Linked DNA regions of Homo sapiens: region 2 is linked to region 1. The links are contacts of gene promoters, found by promoter capture Hi-C in blood cells and fetal thymus (Javierre and others, 2016). All regions are on one chromosome and are shown on one strand. The core of a region is centred on a gene start or on the middle of the fragment in contact, and the rest is flanking DNA. Distances in the headings are between cores, read along the strand shown. Region 1 holds the start of DEFA6 (defensin alpha 6). Region 2 has its middle 9.8 kb from the start of DEFA5.

Region 1 (4,000 bases), core at 1,020-3,519:
TGGGCTCTTCAAAATAGAGCTTGTGCTTCAGTATTTGCATGTATGTGACTCTAGGGGCAGGAAGGTAAGTAGAGAGAGGGAAAGGAACTACGTGAAGTTCCCTTGTCCCTGACACCCTTTGATGTTCTACTGTTCTAGAAGTTCTGTTTACTTCCAGGCGTTCCGTCTGTTGGCGTGGTGATTGTGGTGACTTTACAAGCTGCGATATGGATCCTGATAAGCCTTCCTGCACCCCATCTGTCTAAACATTTACCAATGCCCATGGGGATTGGTCTGCATTATCTTCTATTTCAATTAAAATAGGCTGGGAACACTTCTTAGTTTCCAAAGATAGAGCATACAATTCCAAAATGCTCCTTTAAGTCAAGACAAATTAGATCACTTATTTACAGAAGTATCTTGTCCTGTTAGCTAGATCAGGGTATCTGAGTAACAGCTCCAGGGTAGGATTTCCAGGTGATAGAGTAATTATTGCCTGTCCCATGAACTACTGGGGAAAGAGGCATAGACAGCTATAAGTCACAATGGACAATTACAGTTTGGGTTGGAGAGGGAAAGTTTAATTCGAAATTTAGATGTTAGTTAAATGGTCATCTCCTGCTGGGTAAATGAAGGCAAAATTCAAATAAATACAGAACAAATGCATTTTTAAATGCCCATAGATTCCCTAACAAAACTGAAACAAAAATCAAGAAAACAATTCCATGTACAATAGCATCAAAAAATAAAACACCTAGGAAGAAACAAGGAGGTGAAGGATCTACACACTGAAAATGAAAAAAAAAAAAATAGTGAAAGAAATTAAAGAATGTAAAAATAAATGGAAAGATATCCTGGGCTGAAAATTGGAAGAATTAAGATTGTTAAAATGTCTATCCCAAACAAAACAATATACCGATTCAGCACAATTCCTATCAAAATCCCCATGGCATTCTTTACAGAAATAAAAAAAAAAATCCTAAAATTTGTATGAAATGGTGAAAGAACCCAAATAGACAAAACAATTCTGAGAAAAAAAAACAAAGTTGAAGACATCACAATTCCTGGTTTTAAATTATATTACAAAGCTACGGTAATCAAAACAATATGGTATTGGCATAAAACCAGACACATACCAGTGAAATAAAATTGAGAGTCCAGAAACACATCGAAACACATATGGTCAAGTAACTTTTGACAATGGCATGAAGAAGACACAATAGGGACAGGAGAGTCTCTTCAATAAATGGTGGTGGGAATACTATTTCCATATGCAAAACAATAAAACTGGACCCTTCTCTTTTGGCATATACAAAACTTAACTCAAAATGGATAAAATACCTGAATAGAAGACCAGAAACAAGAGACTATGAAAATAATGGTAGAGTTCTATATGTTTTGAGCTACAAAGTATTCAAATTACAGCATTAGGGAGAAAAAACAAAGCACAAACCAATGTTTAATTTTTAAGTGGAGATTTCCTGGAGCAGAGCTGCAGGGCTGGGGCAAGGATGGAGGCTCATTACTCCTTTTACCCTTTGAATGGTCCTTGTGGGCAATTCAACATTTTCTAAAATTAAAAATAAAATAAAATTTCAGAGGGGGATTGTGGGCATGTCAATTGTTTCGATGTTTCTCAAAGTGGAGAGAAATACCTAGTACATATTTTAGTTGATACATTCAGATCACATGGGTTTCTTGAAATAAATCTTTTGGCTTTAGTTTTACTAACTCTTTACCTAGTATCCCACTGAGTTCTTTTCCCTTATAGGCTGATAAGGTCATTATCTTCTCCACACTGTGCCCCACAAGAGCCTATTCACCCCATAATCTCAAAGCCTCCTTCATGAGGGCAGAAATGCCCCCTGAATCCTGCAATGAATTAACTCTCTACTCTAGCGGGATCCAGCTCTGGCCTCAAGGTCTAGACCTCCAGAGAGTGGCCAGCCCCACCTTCAGAAAATAAGAGGCATTTGATTCCTGAAATTATTCATTGAAAGCACTGTTCTTTTCTTTTTTGAATATTAACAAGTAAATATTCCAGCAGATGGAAAACAGGACAATGTAACACTGTTCTTATCATCACTATCAGCTGGGACCAGAACAGACACTCAATAAACAGCCTCACACTACAATGAAGCTTGGAGAACAAAGGAGCATCAAAGGGACATGGAGGGCAAGGGTAGCTCTTCTGCTCCCCAATCACATGCACTCCCCGTCTCACCGCAACATCTGTCCCTGAGCCTTCTCCCAGCAGACCTATAAATCCAGGCTGGCTCCTCACTCCCCACACATCTGCTCCTGCTCTCTCTCCTCCAGCGACCCTAGCCATGAGAACCCTCACCATCCTCACTGCTGTTCTCCTCGTGGCCCTCCAGGCCAAGGCTGAGCCACTCCAAGCTGAGGATGATCCACTGCAGGCAAAAGCTTATGAGGCTGATGCCCAGGAGCAGCGTGGGGCAAATGACCAGGACTTTGCCGTCTCCTTTGCAGAGGATGCAAGCTCAAGTCTTAGAGCTTTGGGTAAGAGACACCAGCATTGCAGAGCTAGGAGTGTAGAGAGGAAAACCAAGCACTTCTAGAATTAGATCCAACAGCTGGCTCTTTCTCTTAGGTGATCACCTCCCCAGGCCTCAATTACTTTATGTTTGTACTGAAAAGGAAGAATCAGTGATATTCAAGGCATGACTTTTCTCTAAAGATTTTTTAATTCTATGATAAGTCTATGAAATTTTCTAATTTTTTGCCATGTAGAAATGTATTGAGGAGTCTCTACTTCAAGGAAGAGAGCCTAATTTTAAAGGAATGTTTTGTTTTGCTTTGTTTTGTTTTGTTTTGTTTGATGGAGTCTCGCTCTGTCACCCAGGCTGGAGTGCAGTGGCACTATCTCAGATCACTGCAACCTCTGCCTCCTGGGTTCACGCAATTCTCTCCCTCAGCCTCCCAAGTCACTAGGATTACAGGCACCAGACACCAAGCCTGGCTAAATTTTGTATTTTTTTTTTTTTCAGTAGAGACGGGGTTTCACCATCTTGGCCAGGCTAGTCTTGAACTCCTGACCTTGTGATAAACCCACCTTGGCCTCCCAAAGTGCTGGGATTACAGGCGTAAGCCACCACATCCAGCTGCTAAAGGAATGTTTTTTAATCTGACTTTTATAGGAACCGTTGCAAACTGGAGACAGTCATATGGGTGCATTCAGATGTGTGTGTGACAGGGAAGGAGCAGATAAGTACAGCATATCAGAATGGCTCTCTAATCCTGTGTGTGACCAACACTGCTCTGCGTATTTATTCCTATTGATGGTGTGATCATGCTATTGGCTGTAATGCAGCCAGCATTACATGTCAGCAAGCATGCAACTTCCTGAAGATTCTCTTTACTGCCCGCTGCTGACCCTGGTGCTCAATTTCTGATGCTCTCTCTCTCTGTCCCCAGGCTCAACAAGGGCTTTCACTTGCCATTGCAGAAGGTCCTGTTATTCAACAGAATATTCCTATGGGACCTGCACTGTCATGGGTATTAACCACAGATTCTGCTGCCTCTGAGGGATGAGAACAGAGAGAAATATATTCATAATTTACTTTATGACCTAGAAGGAAACTGTCGTGTGTCCTATACATTGCCATCAACTTTGTTTCCTCATCTCAAATAAAGTCCTTTCAGCAAGTTCTTTTGTGTTTGTGCTTTTCTGGTGTTTGATAATTCAGGATTCTTCAGATGCAAAAACAAAAACCCAAGTCGTATCTCAGAACACTAGCTCTTCGAAAGAGTTTTCTATGTAGACCAGAGAAGTGGTAGAGAGGATGTTGAGAGAAGAGAGGATTTGGGTTTTTTGTTTTTTTGTTTTTTGCTTTCTGAGATGGAGTCTCGCTCTGTTGCCCAGGCTGCAGTGCAGTGGCACAATCTTGGCTCACTGAAACCTCTACCTCCTGGGTTCAAGTGATTCTCCTGCCTCAGCCTCCCAAGTAGCTGGGATTACAGGTATCCACCACCACGCCAAGTAATTTTTGTATTTTTA
Region 2 (4,000 bases), core at 805-3,304, 140 kb before region 1:
AGGTTTTTTTACTCGGCCGAGAGTATCGACAGACTCTTGTCTTAAGAACCCAGCTCCTCCAAGGAAGACAGAGTTCCTGGCCCGTTTAAGGGCTTACAACTCCAAGGGGTTCCACGTGAAAGGGCCGTGATGGATTCAGAGCACATGTGCTTAGGGTTAATCTAAGGGGGGGTTAATCTTTTCACCGCAGACCGGCTCATCAGTGCCACCGGCTGGTCTTGCCACTGACTTCATTCCTGTTGTTTTCCCACTTTTACTTCCTCCTCCTCTTCAGAGACAGGAGACAGTAGAGAAATTGTTTCTCTCCTCAGGGCCACAGGATGATATGACTCCCAATATCACAGGGGGTGTACACAGCCCTGTGATATTCTTCCTAATATCCAGAGCGAAAGAGGATGATATGACTCCCAATATCGCAGAGGGTGTACACCCCTCCTGTAATATTGTTCTTCATACCCTGGGAGGGAGAGCATAAGATTACATTGAATATCGCAGGGAATGTGCACCCTCCCCCTCTGATACACTTCCTAATATCCAGGGGAAGACAGGAGAGTTTTACTCCCAATATCGCAGAGGCAGTACACCCCCCCCCCACCCCCGTGATATTGTTCCTAATATCCAAGAAGGGAGAGGATGATCCTTCTCCCGATCAAGCAGTGGGTGTACATTACCCCTGTGTTATTGTCTCTAATATCCGGGGGCGGAGAGGATAACATGCCCTCAAATTTGGCAGGTGGTTTGACGCCCCTTGTGGTATTGTTTTTCATATCCACCGGGGAAGACAATACTACTACTCTCAATATCACAAGAAATGTACATCCCCCTGTGATATTGCTACTAATATCCAGGGGTAGAGAGAATGATGTTACTCCTAATATCGTCACAGTGTCCACTCCCCTCTTTGCTATTGTTCTTAATATATGGAAGGCAAGTATGATATGACTCTCAATATGGAAGGAGGAATACACACCCCTGTGATATTGTTCCCAGTATGCAGTGGAGGAGAGAACGCTATTACCCCCAGTATCGCAGGAAGTGTACACCCCTCTGTGATCTTGTTCATAAGGTTCAATTGAAAAGATGATCTTACTGGAAATATGGTAAATACACTGTGTGTCCTCAGTGACTGCTAACATGCAGGGAGGGATGGGGGTTGATATTACTCTGCGCATCAGCGGAGGGTGTCCACGCCCCTGTGATGTGGCTCCTAATATCCATGGGGAAGGGGGATAGATATTACTCCCCGCATCACTGGGGGTGTCCACCCCCCTGCGATGTGGCTCGTAATATCAGGGGTGGGGGGTGATTTTTCTCCCCGCATCGTAGGGGTCGCCCGCCCCCCTGCGATGTGTATCGTAATACCGAGGGAAGGAGAGGGGGATGACATTACTCCCCACATCGTGGCGGAGTCTATCACAGATCGGGATACTATCCACAACCTGGGATATGGGGAGTACACCGCCTGTGATATTGGGAGTAACATCATACTCTTCCCCCCTGAATATTAGGAACAATATCATGGACGGGGTGTTCACCCCCTGCCTTATTGTGAGTCATGTCATTTTCTCTACCCCTGGACATTAGGAACAATGTCACAGGGGTGGTGTACAACCCCTGCGAAATTGGGAGGTATATCTTCCTCTCCACCTTTGGATATTAGGGACAATATCACAGGGGAGGTCTACACCTTCCGGATTATTGGGATTAATAACGTCCTCTCCCCGCCTGGGTATTAGCAACAAGATCACAGATATTATGTGGAATGGGGCAAAATTACTTATCGCAATTAATAATATCAATTTTAATATCAATATTACTTATAGCAATTAATACTATCAATTTTAATATGAATATTACTTATCGCAATTAATATCATTATCGCAATTAATATCATTATCGCAATTAATAATTAATAATCACTAATATCCATTTTAATATCGATATTACTTGTCACAATTAATAATATCAATTTCAATATCAATATTACTTATCGCAATTAATATTATTATCGCAATTAATAATTAATAATAAATAATATCCATTTCAACATCAATATTACTTATCGCAATTAATAATTGATAATCAATAATATCGATTTTAATATCAATATTACTTATCGCAATTAATAACATCCATTATTAATTGATACTAATAATTATCGACATTAATAACTGAAAATATAATTTTTAACATCAATACCAATAATAATGATAATTAATATTAAATAGTTATACGAATGATAACAATAAATGATTAATATTAATGATTAATAATGCCTGATATTAATAACTGATATTGATCTTATACATTAGAAAACAGTAATATTAGCTCCTAATAATTAATATTAATATTTTGAACACTTTTTATCAGCAATTTGTTATTAATATTAATATTGGTAATTCATATTCATGTGACTAATAAATGAGGAATAATGAATATGAATATTACGCCTAATACCTCAGTGGGTGTACACCTACCTGTGATATTGCTCCTAATGTCCAGGGAGGGAGAGAGCATGATATTATGTTCAATATTGCAGTAGGTGTACACCCACCCAGTGATATTGATCCGAATATAATCTCCAGGGGGTGGAGTATGACGTCACTCCCAATAGAGCAGTGGGTGTACATCCACCCGGTGAAATTGCTCCTAATATTCACGGAAGAAGACAATGCTATGACTCCCAGTATCGCAGAAAGTGTACACCCCTTCTGTGATATTGTTCCTAATATCCGGAGGGGTAGAGGGTGATATTACTCGCAATATCGCAGGCTGTGTACACCCACCCTCTGATATGGTTCCTAGTAGCCAGGAAGGGAGAGGAAGATATGACTTCCCATACAGCAGGAGGTGTACACCCATTCTGGGATATTATTCCTAATATCCATGGAGAGGAGAGGCTGATTTTACTCCCAATATCGCAGGGGGTGTACATCCAGTCTGTGACACTGTTCTTAATATTCAAAGGCGGAGAAGTTGATATTACTCCCAATATCACAGAAAGTGTACAAACCCGTGTGATATTGTTCCTACTATCCAGAAGAAGAGAAGATATTTCCCCCCCATATCGCAGAAGGTGTACACCCACCCTGTGATATTTTTTCTCATGTGCAGGGTGGGAGAGGATAATATTCGTCTTCATAGCGCAGGGTGTGTACAGCCCCCCTGTGATATGGTCCTTCATATTCCAAGGCGGAGAGGATGATCTTACTGCCGATACCGCAGAAAGTGTACACCACCCCAGTGACATTGCTCCCCTGATCCAGGAGAGAAGAGGATGATGCTACTATCAATATCGCATGGGGTGGACACACCCCCAGTGATATAGTTCATAATTTCAACGTGGGAGAGGACGATACTACACCCAATGCCGCTGGGGGTAGAAAGACTCCTGTGATACTGTTCTTAATATCCAGGGGGAAGAGGATGCTATTACTACAAATAGTGAAGAGGATGTACACCGGTCTGTGATCTAGTTGGTCATTTCCAGAGGGAGAGAAGATATTATTGACAATAATGTCAACACGCTGTGTGACCACCGTGGCTCGTAATATGCAAGGGGGGAGAGGGGGGCGATATTACTCCCCGCATCGCGGGGGGCGCCCTCACCCCCCTGTGATGTGGCTGGTAATAGCCCGGGGGGGAGAGGGGGAGATATTACTCCCCGCATCGCGGGAGGCGCCCTCTGAGCAGCTTCAGCCTCAGAGACTAAACCAGATATATTAGAGTTTGGAGTCTGCACTTCAGGGTGTGTGTGCATGCGTGCACCTGTGCATATGTTTGTATGTTTATATTGTGCAGGTATGTGCACGCCTGTGTGGTGAGTGGAGTGTGTTGTGAGGTGGAAACTGGGGATGTATGTGTTATAGACGTGCATGTGCATGTCTCTGAGTCTCAGTGCCTGTGTGCAGGGAGTGGGGACTGTGTGATATAAATGACAGAAAACATGAAAGGAAGCACCAGATCTTGAATGGCCGACAGATGGCCAGTTATGATCTCT

The links. The method cuts DNA at HindIII sites, captures the fragments that hold promoters and counts their contacts. A CHiCAGO score of 5 or more calls a contact.
Region 2: a fragment that was not itself captured here is called in contact with the fragment with the promoter of DEFA6 in region 1 in 1 of 17 cell types (neutrophils); the score reaches 5.4 in neutrophils.

What each region holds. Positions count from the first base shown.
Region 1 is chr8:6,924,345-6,928,344 of GRCh38, reverse strand. It overlaps DEFA6 (defensin alpha 6), which reads left to right and starts at 2,269. Exons shown (of 2, transcript NM_001926.4): 1 at 2,269-2,502; 2 at 3,418-3,648. The coding sequence starts at 2,310. The coding sequence ends at 3,527. RefSeq lists an enhancer at 3,924-4,000. The HindIII fragment of the contact is 287 bases long and covers 2,122-2,408 here.
Region 2 is chr8:7,064,538-7,068,537 of GRCh38, reverse strand. No RefSeq gene overlaps it. Among named protein-coding and RNA genes, the nearest start is that of DEFA5, 9.8 kb to the right of the region's middle. The HindIII fragment of the contact is 7,713 bases long and covers 1-4,000 here.